7 separate regions of the Homo sapiens genome follow, and regions 2, 3, 4, 5, 6 and 7 are each linked to region 1. The links are contacts of gene promoters, found by promoter capture Hi-C in blood cells and fetal thymus (Javierre and others, 2016). All regions are on one chromosome and are shown on one strand. Each heading gives the region's core, a stretch centred on a gene start or on the middle of the fragment in contact. The rest is flanking DNA. Distances are from core to core; before and after follow the strand shown. Region 1 holds the start of SELENOS (selenoprotein S). Region 2 has its middle 5.3 kb from the start of TARS3. Region 3 overlaps TARS3 (threonyl-tRNA synthetase 3). Region 4 overlaps TARS3 (threonyl-tRNA synthetase 3). Region 5 overlaps ALDH1A3 (aldehyde dehydrogenase 1 family member A3). Region 6 overlaps LRRK1 (leucine rich repeat kinase 1). Region 7 has its middle 6.0 kb from the start of LINC02348.

Region 1 (2,505 bases), core at 3-2,502:
TACTTCCTACTTTTTTTTTTTTTTTTTTTTTAAAGACAAGGTCTCAATCAATTGCCCAGGCTGGAGTGTAGTGTGGCCCGAGCATAGCCCACTGCAGCTTTGACTCCCTGGACTCAAGTGATTATCCCGCCTCAGCCTCCTGAGCAGCTGGGACTACAGGTGCGTGCCGCCACTCCCGGCTATTTTTTTTTTTTTTAAATAGAGACAGGGTCTTCCTGTGTGGCCCCTCTTACTTTTACTAAGAGACTAACTCTTAATATAAAGGAGGTGCAAAACCACCGCTTTCATTTCGGTTATCAGGCACTAACCCACAGCAGCCGCAGCTCGGTCCAGCTGCCTCTGCCTCAAGGCTCTTAGCCGGGCGGAAAGCTTCTGAAAGACCACGTAGAGAAGGATGCAGCTGAAGACGATGTACCAGCCATAGGTGGCCAGCAGGGAGCCCACTGAAAAGAAAAACAGTTTTCAAAAAACTAAAAATGACACTACTAGTTGACCTTTCCATAAGACTCAACAAACACAAAGTGTAACTCCTGCCCTCAAAGCCTTCATGGTCTAGGCTGAGGAAAAAGCCTCCTAAGTAGATCGTTAAAACACGAACTCAAGAAGTGCGACAATTCAGGGATCACTGAGAAGTGAGACTTCCCAACCATCTGGGGAGTCGGGGGCAGTTAGAGTGTGGAGGGCACAGCAACTGGGTTTTGAAGAATGAAGAGCAACTAATCTGAATCAGGAAGGCAAAGGCCTTTCAGAGCCACATAGAAAGGGGTGACAGCGCGGGGAGTCAGGAGTGTGTATGGGGCTGTGTGGGACGGGTCCCAGAGGCAAACGCCAACGGCCGAGTGACCCCAGTAACTACCACAGGAAGGGCTTGGTTCGCAAAAAAGACTTGCGCAAACAAGGGACAGCCGAGCCGCCCAGGGAAGTGCGGCTCCCGAGAAGCCTCCGCGCAAGGTCCGGGCCTGCTGCCCAAGGTCCGCGTAAGCGCCAACGCCCGACCGTTCCCAGGCCTCCCAGGCTCCGGCGCCCGGTGCAGCGGCGGACGACCCACCCATCATGGCTGCGCGTCGCAAAAGTGGCGGCGCGCGCCCGGCTGCCCCGCAACGACTCACCCGTGGTGTGCAGGAAGCGCAGCCCCTCGGTCTCCAGGGCCGGCCGCGCGGACAGAGACTCCTCTTGGCGTTCCATGACCGCCGCCGCCGCCGCCGCCCAGCCCTGCCGCCGCGCCTCCAGCCGGGCGCTTCCGGTGCGCTCCTACGCACACGTGGCGCGCCCGGACGCGGTCGTGGTCCCGGCCAATCGCAGGCCGACCCCGCCCCGTCGCTGGGCCAAACGCAGGGGGGCGTGGCCGAGGGGCGTGGCGGGGGAGAAATCCCGGCTACGCTCGCCGGGGCCGGGACAGCGCGTGTGGGAACGTTCTGTGCTATCTCTTGGCTTGAGTCGGGGGTGGAGGACGGACCTCGTTCACGGATTTCTTACCGAATTTCTACTTTCTTTTTTTTTTCTAATTGGACACTGAAGCCAAGGAAGTCAGTGGTCGCCCGGAAGCAGGATTTGCACCCACATCCTTGCCCGGGGCACATTGGACAACAGGGCTCAGTTGGTTGACGACTCCCAGCATTTGAGGGTTGCAGCCAACGTCCACCCCAAGTGAAGACACGAAATGTGAGCAGCCTCCTGCTCCTGCTGCTGGTGATACCTTTCAGGCCAAGAAAGTCCCCACCGATCCTCAAGGTTCTTTCTCCAAAATCAAAGCCTTTTAGGAAAGAACGATCATAGTAACTGCTCTAACCTGTGTTGAATTATACTGTATCACCACAAGACACGATCACAGAGTTACTTATAATAGTGTCCTGGCTGTGTTCCTCTGCCTGCAACGCCGTCCCGCACCCTCTTCCACCACTCAAACGTCACCACCTTTATGGTGACCATAACCATCCTATTTGAAATGTGACCTTGGGTTTTTCTGGAGCATTTGAAGTGCACATACCTAGCTGTGTTTCAAAAGAAGGGTTGGGAATTGGGAATAGAACTGAAAAAATAATGAATAGGTGACAACATCCGAGTGCTGCGTCACCACTGTCGCCAGGAGCAGTGTGGGGAAGGCAAACCATGACATGAAGCGTGAACGCAATCAGTGTTTCTTCAATGCAGGTTTGCCAAGAAGTTCCTCAAGGGGGACAGCTGCAGGGATTTGAGCACTGACCTCATCAAGCTTTCCCAGCAGTGTGTTCAGAAAGCAATAAAGGGGACCTGGCATTCATGAGCCATAGCAAAGAGAAGCCTGAAAGCTCTTCTTCCCTGTTGGCCACCTTGAAAATGGACTCCTCAGATGAACCGAGGACTCTGGATGTTATCCATAAAGGCTGTGAAGATAGCTTATCGATTTAATGAGGAATTTTAGGAGGGAGAATTTCCTTCTTCATGTTTGCCTTTCCGTTGTAAAAGGTGATGAACCATCACCACTCTTTGCTTTGCTACAGATGATTTCTCACTTGCTCTGGCATC
Region 2 (2,505 bases), core at 2-2,501, 450 kb after region 1:
TCCAGCTTGGGCAACAACAGCAAAACTCCATCTCAAAAAAAAAAAAAAAAAGGAAAATAACAAACCACTCTCTGAGTACATTCAAGTGCCCCCACAAAAAAGTAAGGATGTAAAAGACCCAAACAATATAATTAAAAAGTAGATATTTTGAATATATTCACATTATCAATATGTATATATAAATATCTATCTATATAAACTATACCCTGAAAATGGAAGATGCACCTTCCTCTTAAACAAATGTATAGATTCTTCATATAAATTAATCATTTGTAGAGCTCAAGAAAGACCTCAGTAGGTTTCATAAAGTAGAAATATTAGGTACAACACTCTCAGCCCCCAATGCAATAAAATTAGAAATTAAAAATAAAACAACAACAAAAAGCCTTTTCACATGGAAATTTTAAAACTCTTAAGCATCTCTTTATTGAAAGGAGAAATGAAAAAGGAAAGTACAGACTTTCTTTAAAATAGTGATAATGAAAATACTACAAATCTATGCAATACACAGATCAGTAATCAGAAAAAAATCATAACTCTAACACCTATATTGATAAAAACAAAAGAATGGAAATAAATTCTCAATTGAAAAATTGAGAAAAATGACAGCAAAATAAAGCAATGACAAAGTTCTAATAACACTAAATATACATTTCTTTTTCAACCCAGCAATCCCACTTCTAGAAATTTATTCTGAAGATACAAGAAGGCAAAAATGCATATGCACACAAATTCAACGGAAGAGTTGTGATTGTAAAGTACCTCATAGGAGATTGGTTCAATAAGCTATAGTACACACAAAAAATGGAGCACTATGAAGCTGTTAAAAAAATAATTAAGAGGATCTCTGAACTGATATGGAACGATTTCCAGGAGATTTTATGAAGCAAAAAAAGTAATGTTCAGGCTGGGCACAGTGGCTCACGCAAGTAATCCCAGCACTTTGAGAGGCCAAGGCAGGCAGATCACAAGGTCAAGAGATTGGGACCATCCTGGCCAACATGGTGAAACCCTGTCTCTGCTAAAAATACAAAAATTAGCTGGGCGTGGTGGTGCACGCCTATAGTCCCAGCTATGCAGGAGACTGAGGCAGGAGAATCTCTTGAACCAGGGAGGTGGAGGTTGGAGTGAGCCAAGATCACGCCACTGCACTCCAGCCTGGCAACAGAGTAAGACTCCGTCAAAACAAACAAACAAACAAAAAAAAAACAGTAATGTACACATGTAGTATGTTACATGTTGTATAAGAAAAAAGAGAAAATGAAAACATGCATATATCTGCTTATCATCACAAAAAGAAACAGAAAATAAACTAGAAAACAATGAATTTGGTTATCTACAAGTAGATAACCAAGAGATAAAGGTCCCGACCTCTAATACCTTTCCTCATTAAAGGGTTCCTGGCAGAAAGGCCTATTCCAGAGCTGGGACATTGACTTAGTCCATTTATGTTGCTACAAGGAAATACCTGAGGCTGGATAATTTACAAAGAAAAGAGGTATATTTGGCTCACACTTCTGCAGGCTGTACAAGAAGCATGGTGCCAGCATCTGCATCTGGTGAGGGTTTCAGGAATCTTCCACTCATGGCAGAAGGCAAAGGGGAGCCCACATGTACAAAAGTCACATGACAGGAAAGCAGAAGCAAGAGAGAGGGGAGAGATGTGAGGCTCTTTTAAATAATTAGTTCTCACAGGTGCTAAGAGTGAGGACTCAATCATTACTGTGAGGACAGCACCAAGCCATTCATAAGGCATCTGTCGAGGACGGCACCAAGCCATTCATAAGGGATCTGTCGAGGATGGCACCAAGCCATTCATAAGGGATCTGTCCAGGACGGCACCAAGCCATTCATAAGGGATCTGTCCAGGACGGCACCAAGCCATTCATAAGGGATCTGTCCAGGACGGCACCAAGCCATTCATAAGGGATCTGTCCAGGACGGCACCAAGCCATTCATAAGGGATCTGTCCAGGACGGCACCAAGCCATTCATAAGGGATCTGTCGAGGACGGCACCAAGCCATTCATAAGGGATCTGTCGAGGACGGCACCAAGCCATTCATAAGGGATCTGTCCTCATGAACCAGACACCTCCCACTAGGCCCCACCTGCAACACTGGGGGTGAAATTTCAACATGAGACTTGGAGGGGACAGATATCCAAATGATATCAGACATGTAAGTTCAAGATAAGCGTAGAGCACTTTGTTTTGCTGGAAATTAACAAAGCGCTCTCCACAAAAATGATGGGAACATGATACAAGGGCACAGGAACCAGCTTGAAGGGATCCCACCAGCCAAACCAATTGAACTTCAAAAATAATTAAGTAATGAATTGTAAACCATTAAAAAATATGGGAACTCACAAGTCCAACCAATAATAGAAAAAAATGGGAAAGAAGCCAGAGCTCAGTTTATAGTCTATGCCATGGACTAAATGGCAAACACAGGTAAATGGGAAATTAGAAAACCATCACTTTGCCACCTTCATAGTAAGGACTGGAT
Region 3 (2,505 bases), core at 2-2,501, 430 kb after region 1:
AGCCAAGATAGTGCCACTGCACTCTAGCCTGGGAGGCAAAGAGAGACTCTGTCTGAAAAAAAAAAAAAAAAAAAAAAAAAAAACCCAAAAAATAAAAAACAAAATGTATGTTTTCTCCAATATGTATGTTTTAAAACATAAAATCAGGAATATATTTAAGTACGTTGGTCAAAAAAATATAAAGAGAAAGTTACTGTTTTACACAGGTTACTCTAGGTTAAAATCTGAAACAAAAGTTAACAGAAAACTCCCACAGAAAAGAGAAAAAGGCAGCATTTTATATGGGATTATAAATATTGTTGAATTTAGGTGACAGATATTCACAATACTCAGAATTAATCAGATTTATAAACACACATGTGAAAATTATTCACCTGGCCCTTTACCTACCTATGTCTCCCCTCAAATGTTCAGGAAATAGATGGGGAGGGAAATGTCACAGCAAGTAACTGGTAACAACCTCACAGTAGCTTAACAGGATTGGAATAATTTGGTGAGCAACAGGTAATTATTTGGGGGAAGGTGGGGAAGCTAGTCTATATTGATTTTTAATATTCCTAGTAAGAGGTTTAGGAGTTTCCCCAAGTTACCTTAAACATTTCCAGGAGGATTTCCTTGCTGACTTCTAGTCTTTCAAAAGGTTGCTTTTCTTTTATGATGGCTTTACATATATTCTCCAGGGCTGACAATTCTGTGCTGGACACTGCTCTAAAAAGAAGAGCAGAGAACCGACATCCATCTTCCAGACATTATGCATTCCCTCTTTCCTTTGTCCTGGAGCCTCAGCAGCCATAAATTTGAATCTGCTGTCTTATTGTTCCAGGACTTCAGAAAGTCAAACGTTCATACAGTCACTACTCTTGTGTCTCAGTGAGGGAGACTGGGCATCAACAGTTGCCAAGACCTGCCTCATTTCTCCTCTGCTGCAAGGGGAGAAGGAAGCCCTGCTAGGAGACACCCAGGTGGACTGTGAGCTCCTCTGAGGCCTGTTCTTTTGTGTGGTCTTCCTTACCCTTCACATGCTTTAGTTTTGCTCAAGAGCCAGATGCAGTGCTCATCACGTCCCTGCCCTCACTGGCTATGGAACCAAGGCTGGGAGACATCTGTATGGACTGCAGAGTCGCGGTGCTCCCAGCAGCACTCAGCCTCCGCTATGCATGGACTAACTTCCTTTCAGTCACCCCCTGGTCAGTGCTCACTCCCTCCTGCCACACTAGCTTCCTTGCCACTCCTCAAACAAGCCACACATATCCCCACACCAGGACAGTCCCACAGAGGCCTGGAACCTTCTCCCTGCAGATGTCATAAGTATCCCCATCCTCAGGGCTTGCTCCCTCCCTCCACTCCGGTCGGCTTCAATGCCACCTGCTCCTTCCTGCCCACCTGCCTGTCATGGCACACACCTCCTACACCTGGCTGATGTTCCTATAGTCATCACCACCCGGCAGCAGATGGCTGCTTGTGCATTTGCTGTCTTCCCCCAAACACTGTTAGCTCCATGAGGACAGACTGGTTCCTTCACTGCTGAATCACCAGCACCCAGCACAGAGCACACAGCAGGCAGCAAAAACATCTTGTTGAACGAATACTGGAGCCATGTTAACAAGAGATGAACGGGATGTGATACTGTGATACAGTAAGAAACACAAATTTGGTCTTCATCCAGATTTCTGGCACAGGGTTTTTAAAATCCTGAAATCTCTGGAGTGATACGAGTGTCTTTTGTGTGCTGATGAGATGACTGGTGGCTAGGTCCCCTAGGTAGCTTCAGAGCAGGAACTGGTCACCACAAAGACCAAGGCATGATTAAAGGGTTGGGACTTTCAGCACCCCCACCTGCCTCCTTAGGGGAAAGGAGAGGGGCTAGAGATTGGGTTATCACCAAAGGTCAATGATTTAATCAATTGTGCCTCTATAATGAAACCTCCATTAAAATCCCTAAACAACAAGATTCACAGAGCTTCCAGGTTGTTGAACACATCCAGGTGCTTGGGGCATGGCGCCCAGAGACACATGGCATCTCTGTGGTCCCTCCCACATACCTCACCATAAGCATCTTTCATCAGGCTGTTCATCTCTATCCTTTGTAACATCCATTATAATACACTGGTAAGGTAAGTAAAGTGCCTTCTTGAGTTCTGTGAGCCAGTCTAGCAAATTATTGAACCCAAGGATGGGGTCATGGGAACTCCCGATTTGTAGCCTGTAGGTCAAAAGTATGGAAGGCCCAGACTTCCAGCTGGCATCTGAATTGGGGCCAGTCTTGTGGGACTGAGCCCTTGACCTGGGGAATCTGCATTAACTCAGGGTAGATAGTGTCAGAATTGAGTTCAATCATTAGACACCTCATTGGTGTCCAGAGAGTTGGAGCACTGGCCATTGATTTGGGAAAAAACCCACACCTTTGAGATAAGAATTGTTGTAGGTAAACACAGTTTCATGCTTGTGAGTAATAGTGGTTCAGATTGGACAAGTCTGTAAGTAGTAGCTACACAGCATTGGGTG
Region 4 (2,505 bases), core at 3-2,502, 400 kb after region 1:
AGAGAGAGGCAGCTGAAATGCAGGGAATTTGATGGATTTGAGACATCAAGTCTTTCATTCATTAACTGCAATGGCTAGTTTTTTGTTTTGTTTTGTTTTTTGAGACAGTCTTGCTCTGTCACCCAGGCTGGAATGCAGTGGTGTGGTCTTGGCTCACTGCAACCTCTGCCTCTCGGGTTCAAGCGGTTCTCATGCCTCAGGCTCCCGAGTAGCTGGAACTACAGGTGCTCGCCACCATGCTCGGCTAATTTTTGTATTTTTTTTTTTTTAGTAGAGAAGGGGTTTCGCCATGTTGGCCAGGCTGGTCTCGAACTCCTGGCCTCAAGTGACCCACCTGCCTCAGCCTCCCAAAGTGCTGGGATTATAGGCATGAGCCACTACACCCTTTTTTTTTTTTTTTTAAGTTCCTGGGTGCACGTGCAGGATGTGTAGTTTGTTACATAGGTATATGTGTGCCATGGTGGTTTGCTCCACCTATGAACCCGTCACCTAAGTATTTAAGCCCAGAATGCATTAGCTATTTATCCTGATGCTCTCCCTCCCTCCTCTTCCCTCCGACAGGCCCCAGTGTGTGTTGTTCCCCTCCCTGTGTCCATCTGTTCTCATTGTTCAGTTCCCACTTATAAGTGAGAACATATGGAGTTTGGTTTTCTATTCCTGTGTTAGTTTGCTGAGGATAATGGCTTGTGATGGCTACTTTTAAGTGTTAACTCGACTGAGCTAAAAGATGCCAGACAGCTGGCCACCCTTACAACATTTATTTCTGGGAATGCCTGTGAGTGCGTTTCTCGAAGAGATGAGCATCTGAATCAGTGGAATTGGTAAACAACTTCCACCCTCACCAATGTGGGTGGGCCTCATCCAATCTGTTGAGGGCAGGAATAGAACTCAAAGGCAGAGGAAAGGCAAATTCTCTCTCTTTTTGAGTTGGGACATTTATTTTCTCCTGTTCTCAGACACTGGAGCTCCTGGTTCTCAGGCCCACCAACTCTGGGACTTACACCAGCTCCCTCCTTTGCTCACCCCACTGAGGCTTTTGGCCTTAGACTGGGAGTTATACCATCAGCTTTCCTAGTTCTCCAGCTTTTTTTTTTTTTTGAGACGGAGTTTTGCTCTTGTTGCCCAGGCTGCAGTGCAATGGCACAGTCTCAGCTCACCACAACCTCCACCTCCCGGGTTCAAGCAATTCTCCTGTCTCAGCCTCCTGAGTAGCTGGGATTACAGGCACATGCCACCACGCCTGGCTAATTTTGTATTTTTAGTAGAGACAGGGTTTCTCCATGTTAGTCAGTCTAGTCTCGAACTCCCAACCTCAGGTGATCCACCCACCTCAGCCTCCCAAAGTGCTGGGATTACAGGCACGTGCCACCAAGCCTGGCTAATTTTGTATTTTTAGTAGAGACAGGGTTTCTCCATGTTAGTCAGTCTGGTCTCGAACTCCCAACCTCAGGTGATCCACCCACCTCAGCCTCCCAAAGTGCTGGGACTACAGGTGTGTGCTACCATGCCTGGCCTTTCTCCAGCTTTTAATTGGCATATCATGGGACTTCTTTTTTTTTGGGGGTCATTTTTTTTTTTTTTTTGAGATGGAGTATCACTGTCACCCAGGCTGGAGTGCAGTGGCATGATCTCGGCTCACTGCAACCTCTGCCTCCCAAGTTCAAGCGATTCTCTTGCCTCAGCATCCTGATAGCTGGGATTACAGGTGTGTGCCACCACACCCAGCTAATTTATGTATTTTTAGTAGAGATGGGGTTTCACCATGTTGGTCAGGCTGGTCTTGAACTCCTGACCTCATGATCTGCCTGCCTCAGCCTCCCAAAGTGCTGGAATTACAGGCATGAGCCACCTCACCCAGCCTGGGTCATATTTTTTAATCTACTATGTCAATCTCTTTTAATTGGTTTATTTAGACCATTTACACTTAATATGTTAGGGCTTTACACTGCCTTTTTGTTTCCTTCTTGTTCTCTCTTGTTATTCATTTCTGTTTTATTTTTCCTGTCTTCCTATGGATTACTTTAACATTTTTCTGGAATTCAATTCCAATTTATCTATAGGTTCTCTTAGTGTATCCCTGTCTATAGCTTTTTTTTTTATTGGTTTCTCTAGGTATTATATAACTTATCAGTCCAGATATTGTCACTTTACCAGCTCAGGTGAAGTACAAAAACTTTTATTCCCTATACCTTACCCCATTTATAGTATAATTTTCTTAAACATTTCTTCTACATACATTTAGAACATCAGAAAGAACATGTGATTTTTACTTCAATGATCAAACATAATTTAGAAAACGCAAAAGGAGAAGGAAAATATATTGTATTTACCTGTTTTTATTTTCACAATCTTTTTCTTCCTAAAGTTCCCTGATTCCTCTTTTCATCATTTCCTTTCTGTTTAGAAAACTTCCTACAGCCATTCTTTTGGTGGGTCCAATGTCTTGATTTCCCCTCAATTGCTGAAGGGTATTTTCTTTAGACATAGAATTCTGGGTTGAAAATT
Region 5 (2,505 bases), core at 3-2,502, 370 kb before region 1:
CACACTCCGACGCCACGTGACCCTGGCAGAAAGCACTTCTTGTGGCTAACATTCCTTCTCCTCAGTCATTGCCTGCCCAGCCTGTGCCCCAAACCCAGCGGTCAGTGACACAAGGTTGTCTAATGGCCTCGGCTGGATTTCAGATCTGAACGCAAACATGACCACAAGTCATTATTGAATCCGCCGTGAGTTTTAAAGCTAATCCACAATCAGTGGGAAATATGTGAACTGATCCCCATACAGAAGAAACTTTTTTACCCCGTCGTTATTTGTAAGTCTCTTTCTGTGGCTCTTTTCTTGGCTTATGCCTGATGTCTGAGTCTTGACTTTTGAGGCCAGATACACCGATTTCTTCCAAGAGAACAGATAGAGGCAGAATGGGTGCTGATTTCATCAGTGCATTTATGCCACCGCTCAAAGTCCTTCTGAAAGCTCACTAAAGCCGTCTAACCTCAGCATATTATTTTAGAATGCTGTTGGGGTTTCTTTTTCTTCCAAAGTGCTTTTTCATCTACGGTAATAAGATTTTACTCTGAGAGGACTTACAGCTGTCTAAATAGTCCTGTCTGTCTCATGCCTGTAAAACAGCTAGCTGACCTAGATCCGGGTCCACGGCCGGGCTAGCGCTCACAGGAATGCTCCAAAATCATTCAGGTTTATTTGGCAACTGAGCAACGAGGCACATAAACATTATGCAGGCCACCTGGCCGGGCAGGATCCGGCAGCGTCCTCCGGGCAGAGAGCCGAGCACAGCCTTGAGCCAGTCCTGTGGGGGCCGTATTTCCCTGTTTCTGGTGTTGTGCCCTGCTGCGTCATCTCACTTCCTGGCAGGTCTCTCTTCCTGTACTGTAAGGCACCAGCTGACATTTCATGGAGGATTATTAGATTTAAACAATGTGTTCCTACGGGCTCTCCAGGGAGTGTGGAGTTTGGATGTGTAGGTTTTCCACGGGGACCCAGCACTGCCTGCAGGACAAACAGGGTCTGCCAGATGGCATATGCCCAGCAGCCAGGGAGGACCTGCGGTTGGGCGAAGCCCCTGTGTCCCTTTTGGCCCCTCAGGGAGGGGAAGAGCAGCTCAGCAGCATCTGGAACTGTTAACCTGAGACTTGGTTCACCCAGAGAGAAGTTGAGAGAACCTTGAGCTCTTCCGGGATCTGTTGCAAAGCTGTTTTTGTTACTTTTTTTGAGTGGAGTACACATACACGGGTCAAACCCCAAAACGCCTAAAAACGTCTATAGTGAAAGGATTCCCGCCCCTCCCGCCCCCACCTTTGTACACCTGGTTCTTACCCTTCTCCCCACGGTATCCCCAGTTCTTAGTTCCTCATGTTTCCCTCTAGAATGTTTTCGTGTGCATGCAAGCAGATGAATGCAAGTCCTGATTGCCTTTGTTATTTTTACACGGAAGTTTCCATGATAGTATATCATCTTGCACTTTGTTTATTGTTCCCTAAAAAAACTGGAAGAGCTCTTTATACCAGTCCATGGGAACCTGCCTGATTCTTTTTCACATGTGTATGGAATTCTGCTGGATGAAGCCACCAGAATTTCAGTAACATCTTCTGATTAGCATGCAGGTATGTGCAGTCACACACAAGGCCTCAGAGTATGTGATTTCACACACACACAAGGAAATCCCTGGGACAGCTTTCCCAAAGTGGGTTGCTAAGTGGGAACACATTTCTAATTTCCTTAAGTGTTGCTGAATTACCTTCCATAGAGGCTGAACCAACGTGTATTCCTACTAACATTCTAGAAGTTTGTCTGTTTCTTTACCCTTTCCAACAGAATATGGATTTTTGCCCATAGGAGAGTTAAAAATGCTATCTTGTTTCATTTTAATATGCATCTACCGCTTATAATAAGCAAGGTAGAACATCTTATTATATATTTAAAAACCGTTTGTATTTCCTTTATTATCAAATGTGCTTTGCGTATTTTTCTTGCAAGCTGTTAGGCATTTTTCTTATCACTTCTAAGACCTCTTTACATACATAGTAGAGAGATTAGCTTTCTATGAATATGACTTGTTAATATTTTTTCCAAGTTTGTTGTTTTGCTCTTTGTTATGATAATTTTGCCCCCACCCCATTTTTTTTACATACTCAAAATTATACATCTTTTCTTTTTTGGCTTCTGCATTTTGAGTCATTAGAAGGCACTCCAAGTTTGCAGGATAAGTCTCCCACATATAAAACTTTTATGGTTTTGTTTTTCCTGGTTATATCTTTGATCTATTTGGAGTTTGGCCTGGTATAAAGTGTGAGGTATGGATCTGAGTTAGTATTTTTAAACTGGGTTTGGAGTTTGGCCTGGTATAAGGTGTGAGGTATGGATCTGAGTTAGTATTTTTAAACTGGGTTTGGAGTTTGGCCTGGTATAAGGTGTGAGGTATGGATCTGAGTCAGTATTTTTAAACTGGGTTTGGAGTTTGGCCTGGTATAAAGTGTGAGGTATGGATCTGAGTTAGTATTTTTAAACTGGGTCCATATTTCATGAGAT
Region 6 (2,505 bases), core at 3-2,502, 350 kb before region 1:
AGTTTAAGTGATTCTCATGCCTCGGCCTCCCAAGTAGCTGGGATTACAGGCGCCCACCAGCATGCCCAGCTAATTTTTGTAATTTTAGTAGAGATGGGTTTTTACCATATTGGCCAGGGTGATCTCGAACTCCTGACCTCAAGTGATCCACTCTCCTCGGCCTCCCAAAGAGCTGGGATTACAAGCGTGAACCACCGCACCCATCTATTTTCTTTTCCATTAAATGTTTAGGTTTATTCATTAATGCAGGTATAAATAGTTGGCAAAAGGAAATTGATGAGGTTTTGAAAAATCATTTAAACCATCATTACTGCTGAAAACCTCTTGATGCCCTCTTTAGGGTGTATAATGAAGACATGTAACTTGTAATCATCACTTGTTGGCACCTCTCTGGACCCAAAAGAAGCAGGAGGAAGCAAAGATCCGTTTGAGGGCAAAGATTGAGCAAAATTTGAATTACCTCATCTTAAAACTTCTACCTTAGAATATAAGCCAAAATAGTAACTAGAATTTTAAAACTGCTCCAGGGGCAGAGTCTTCCACTGGTAAAGTGATTTTCAAAAGGAAACTGAAAATGAAAAGGGGAACAAAATGTGCTGGGTGAGGGTTAGCCTGAAATAATTTTAAGATTTTTTTTTTTTTAGAACTTAAAAACATTGTATGGTAAGACACTTCTGTTTTCAGGAAGAATGTCTAGCGTTTGGATTTTTGAAATGCTGTTGGTTATGTGCGGTAGCTGTTTTGGAGAGGTGTCTGAAAGCAGATGGCAACTGTGCTTCTCAGTTTCTGGATGTGAATGTGTGATCGGAACGTTTATTTTAAAACAGATTCTGTCTTGCTGGCTCTTCCTCTCTCTGTCACAAGTTGATTTTCCAAATCAGGTTTTGCTATTTATAAGGCTTTCATCATCCCCTAAATTTTGCCCAGATTGATCGTTTTTCCTTTCCTCCTTCGACTTTTCAGGCTTCCCAACTTCAAACACAGGTGTTTCCCACACGTGGTTTGTGTCGACCATCCCTTTTGCCTCTGAAACATGTGCAGCTTGCACAAGGCTGCTGGAGCCTGGCTTTTCTAGCTCCACCTTTCCCTGCCTTGACGAGTCCAGTCCACCTGGGCCAGGTGCCTGAGTTCTAGGCTTTTAGGTGAGAAATTCCCACAGCCTTGTCCTGTACCTTACTTCGTGCCCCTACTGCTCACGGCATCTTCTAGAACCTACCCGCTGGTGAGGCTGGCATCTGCCCTCCAGCATTGATATTCTGATCTTATTAATTAGCAGGGAAGTGGGAGACCCGCTGGCCTCCAAGTCTGTGCGCTGGTACTACAGGTAATGACCACCCCAGCCCTGTCGTAGAGAGAGGCTGCAGAAACTTCACTTTGGTTGAATTCACACAGTAACCCCACTAGCAGGCCCGGGCATAAGGGTGGATGTCTATTTTTAACAGGTGAAAACTGAGACACACATACCTTTCAGCTGGGAGTCACACTGCGAACATGTGACACAGGCAGTCCACACCTTTAACGTCCACGCTATGCTTTTGCCTGTACAGATTCTCTTAGGCATTATTTTTATATAACCTTGATTTAAAAAATATATTTTTGGCTGCACTATCACTCCCCATTTCAGAGTTGTCTATCTGAGAGAACACAGACAAGAGGTGCTAATTACCTCGTACTTCATCACATGTAGGATATGCTATAAGAACAAGGATAGGCGCACATGCATTACTTATGGTAGTACCTCATGTCAGGCCTGAGCTAGGCATGGGTCTTACCCTCCCTCTGGTCCTTCAATCACCATACCAGGATGGGCACTTATGCCCATGGGGGGACTCTAAGCTCAGTGGGGGCCCAGCATAGAAGAGCAGCACTTGGTCTCAGTTTATCATAGTCATTAGTTTCAGAGATTAGTCTAACTCCACCCTGGAACTTTTGGGGCCAGATAATTCTTTGTTGCAAATAGCAGTCCTGTACATTGTAGGATGTTTAGCAGCATCATTGACCTCTACCCATTAGAGGCCTGTAGCACTCTCCCCCAGCCAAGTTGTGGCAACCAAAAATGTCTCCAGACATTGCCAAATGTCCCCTGGGAAAGGGGCAGAATTTTTGAGGCTCATGTCTGCTAACCTCCGTCATTTAGCTTTCTGCTAAAGCTCATGCTAACTTGACTTCATAACCAGTAATAATTCCATGTCTTTGGAACTGTTGCCTGACCACCCCCTTGGGATGACGTGCTCACCTCTGGCTTCCAGAAGAACTGGCCCCGGGCAAAAGGAGAGCCTTGTATCGTGACTAACCTTAACTATGTCTGCCCTACCCCCACTGGAGTGTGCCCCTGAGGGCAAGAGCCTCCTTGAGCCATCTTGGTGCCACTGAGCCTCACACAGAGCCTGGCTACCTTGCATGTGACAGTAGGTGTGCGTTGACTGAACAATGATTGAAGCTGTTACCAGTATGTGTTTTCCAATTGTCTGGGGTTTGTTTGAGACTCTTCTCAGGTAGACAATA
Region 7 (2,505 bases), core at 5-2,504, 340 kb after region 1:
ATCTTCTGCTTCCAGAGCAGTGGGGCTCTCCAGGGCACCTGTTTGTGTACCCACAGCCAACAGCTCTGGGCAGTTAGTGGGAAATTACAGCAACCAGTAAAGTCAGAAGCACTGAGGCTTTAGACTCACACACGTGCAGTATCTCCCCAGCCGCTAGCTAAAGACATTGACCTTTTTTGGTGATGGATGTTCTGGTGGTCTGGGGTTGGTGGGCTTCAACAAGTGGGGGTTTTAGCATGATTCAGCCAAGATCTCCAATCCTGCAGCCTGGGACCCTGACTTGGTAAAACGAACACATCTGACACCGCTTGAGTCGCCATCTATAGGAGGTAAGTGTGAGTCTGGGTTCCAAATATTTTATCAAGCCTGTCAGGGAAGCAAGCGCTGTCTGTCTGCAGGAAGATGTCTGTGGGGAGAGGGCAGATCTGAGTCCAGTGAGTCTCTCCTGCAGCCAGCCTCCAGGTCCACCCTCCCCCAACAGATGTCCTCTCGCAAATGAAAAACACTCAAGACGTGGAAAGCAGACAGATGGCAGGAGGGTCCTTAGCCCGGACTGATGACAGCCGGCTCTGGGCCAGGTTCTGGACAGGATTGTGGGCACACGGTCCCGACCCACCACTGCAGTTCTTGTGGGATGGTCTTGGTCCACATGCGAGCCCCTCTCAGGCCAAACACCTGCTTACTCCATATTTTCATGTAATTCTAATTCATGTAAATGATGTTATTTCATCAAGGACAATTGAAGTTATGGTTGGCCACTTTGGGTAACTTATTTTTTATTTTTTTAAATTTTTTTTGAGATGGAGACTCACTCTGACCCCCAGACTGGAGCGCAGTGGTGTGATATCGGCTCGCTGCAACCTCCGCCTCCCGGGTTCAAGCAATTCTCCTGCCTCAGGCTCCCCAGTAGCTGTGATTATAGGTGCCCACCATCATGCCTGGCTAATTTTTGTATTTTTAGTAGAGACGGGGTTTCACCATGTTGGCCAGGCAGGTCTCGAACTCCTGACCTCAGGTGATCTGCCTGCCTTGGCCTCCCAAAATGTTGAGATTACAGGTGTGAGCCACCACGTCCAGCCACTTTGGGTAACTTTTAACATAGACAAAATAGTTATTTTGAGAGGCATCCTAAAACAAATAGAAAAAAAAAATCCTGACTATCCAATGGCCTGCATTCTTTAGTTGGCATAAGGAGACTTCTAAACTCAATTCAGATTCTAAAATTATCTACCTAAGTTATTCTACTCAGGTCAGAAAAAATGTCAGTGATAAACTGAGACTTGTGCCGCGCATTTATATTCTAGGCTTTTCTGACTTCCTCTGACCAATCATTTCCCAGGAGGTGCGAAGCCTTGCTGGATAAAAGGTAAGCGGCGTGACCCTGAAAAGGACACAGGGTTAACACATCCTCGAAAACACAAACACACAAACAACAAAATAGAAACTCTTTTGACAGGAACACTTGGCAATAGTGCGAACAAAAGAATAACTGGAAAGTAATATCCCACCTAATTACAGAAAAAAAGAACTAGTGAGTTCTGAGGGATTGTGAAGGAAGACTCCAGCCAGCCCCTCTCACCTTCTTTTCCCCTGCTCTTCCTCCAGCTCTTGAAAGACTCTGGAGGTTAATTATAGCAACTGGTATTTTCTAAAAATGGCCTCTGTGTGGTTTCTAGTTTCATTGCTTTTTCTGAATCTTCCTGCCCTCCTGCCCCCCCCAGTCAGAGCAGGAGTTCACGTGTGCTCCCCTTGGCTTCGGGTGGATCTTTGTAGCTCACTCAATTAATGGGCTGTGGTACGTGTACCGCAGCTTGGCTTCTGGAGCTGGGTTAGAACAGCCGACACAGCTTCCGCGTGGCCAGCCAGCATGCCGGAAGGGAGCCCAAACCAGACCCTGCGGGGAGACCACACGGAGAAGCCCCTGTGGAGAGGATCCCCAGGCAGATGACTAAGGAGCCTGTGGGTGATTCCAGCCCCCATCCTCGGAGTCTCCCAGCTGCGGCCCCAGGCATCACAGAACAGAGACAAACCATTCTGCTGTGCCTGTCCAAATGTCTGATGCACAATATCTGTGAAAATGTGTGACTGTTTTACACCACTGAGCTTTGAGGTAATTTGTTACACCGCCATAAAAAATCAGAACATCAAGTAATGACACAAATGTTCCATCATGATGTGCATACTCTAGAACTAACTAGCACAGATAAACAGATACCCCACAAAAGAAAAGTAATACATATTACAAGGTCTATTAAAATCCATGGGAGATGCTGTCCTAATTGGTTACAGAGAGCTTATATAAATTTAAAATAAAACAATGCAAGAGTTTCCAGAAGATAGAGAAAAATGTTAACCTTCTCGTTATGTGTTGATTCATTTTATTTTCAAAGGAAAAAAGTTTAACTGTGACTTTCATTAATAACTTTGGTTACTAGGTTACAAAAAAAAGACTATTCACAGCTTTTAAACATGGCTGGAAATGCTTTAAAAATCATTCTATAAATA

The links. Contacts are between HindIII fragments. The CHiCAGO score rates a contact against its expected background, and 5 or more counts as called.
Region 2: a contact is called between a fragment that was not itself captured here and the fragment with the promoter of SELENOS in region 1, in 15 of 17 cell types (neutrophils, monocytes, naive B cells and 12 more). The highest score is 12.3, in neutrophils.
Region 3: a fragment that was not itself captured here is called in contact with the fragment with the promoter of SELENOS in region 1 in 5 of 17 cell types (total CD8 T cells, M0 macrophages, monocytes and 2 more); the score reaches 7.4 in total CD8 T cells.
Region 4: a contact is called between a fragment that was not itself captured here and the fragment with the promoter of SELENOS in region 1, in 7 of 17 cell types (megakaryocytes, M0 macrophages, naive CD4 T cells and 4 more). The highest score is 9.6, in megakaryocytes.
Region 5: a fragment that was not itself captured here is called in contact with the fragment with the promoter of SELENOS in region 1 in 2 of 17 cell types (M0 macrophages and M2 macrophages); the score reaches 9.2 in M0 macrophages.
Region 6: a fragment that was not itself captured here is called in contact with the fragment with the promoter of SELENOS in region 1 in 9 of 17 cell types (M0 macrophages, total B cells, M2 macrophages and 6 more); the score reaches 10.4 in M0 macrophages.
Region 7: a contact is called between a fragment that was not itself captured here and the fragment with the promoter of SELENOS in region 1, in 3 of 17 cell types (megakaryocytes, M1 macrophages and M0 macrophages). The highest score is 11.1, in megakaryocytes.

The regions. Positions count from the first base shown.
Region 1 is chr15:101,276,233-101,278,737 of GRCh38, forward strand. SELENOS (selenoprotein S) reads right to left here and starts at 1,253. Exons shown (of 6, transcript NM_018445.6): 1 at 1,110-1,253; 2 at 309-443. The coding sequence starts at 1,185. RefSeq lists a silencer at 1,129-1,458. The HindIII fragment of the contact is 1,843 bases long and covers 368-2,210 here.
Region 2 is chr15:101,728,566-101,731,070 of GRCh38, forward strand. No RefSeq gene overlaps it. Among named protein-coding and RNA genes, the nearest start is that of TARS3, 5.3 kb to the left of the region's middle. The HindIII fragment of the contact is 3,967 bases long and covers 1-2,505 here.
Region 3 is chr15:101,708,203-101,710,707 of GRCh38, forward strand. It overlaps TARS3 (threonyl-tRNA synthetase 3), which reads right to left. Exons shown (of 19, transcript NM_152334.3): 6 at 591-708. Among named protein-coding and RNA genes, the nearest start is that of TARS3, 15 kb to the right of the region's middle. The HindIII fragment of the contact is 3,396 bases long and covers 1-2,505 here.
Region 4 is chr15:101,676,418-101,678,922 of GRCh38, forward strand. All of the region lies in intron 12 of TARS3 (threonyl-tRNA synthetase 3), which reads right to left. Among named protein-coding and RNA genes, the nearest start is that of TM2D3, 25 kb to the left of the region's middle. RefSeq lists an enhancer at 1-177. The HindIII fragment of the contact is 5,094 bases long and covers 1-2,505 here.
Region 5 is chr15:100,901,889-100,904,393 of GRCh38, forward strand. The region is part of intron 9 of ALDH1A3 (aldehyde dehydrogenase 1 family member A3); the gene reads left to right. The region is part of intron 1 of ALDH1A3-AS1 (ALDH1A3 antisense RNA 1); the gene reads right to left. Among named protein-coding and RNA genes, the nearest start is that of ALDH1A3-AS1, 16 kb to the right of the region's middle. The HindIII fragment of the contact is 2,827 bases long and covers 1-2,505 here.
Region 6 is chr15:100,921,812-100,924,316 of GRCh38, forward strand. All of the region lies in intron 1 of LRRK1 (leucine rich repeat kinase 1), which reads left to right. Among named protein-coding and RNA genes, the nearest start is that of LRRK1, 3.7 kb to the left of the region's middle. RefSeq lists an enhancer at 2,348-2,505. The HindIII fragment of the contact is 2,910 bases long and covers 1-2,505 here.
Region 7 is chr15:101,619,118-101,621,622 of GRCh38, forward strand. No RefSeq gene overlaps it. Among named protein-coding and RNA genes, the nearest start is that of LINC02348, 6.0 kb to the left of the region's middle. The HindIII fragment of the contact is 6,686 bases long and covers 1-2,505 here.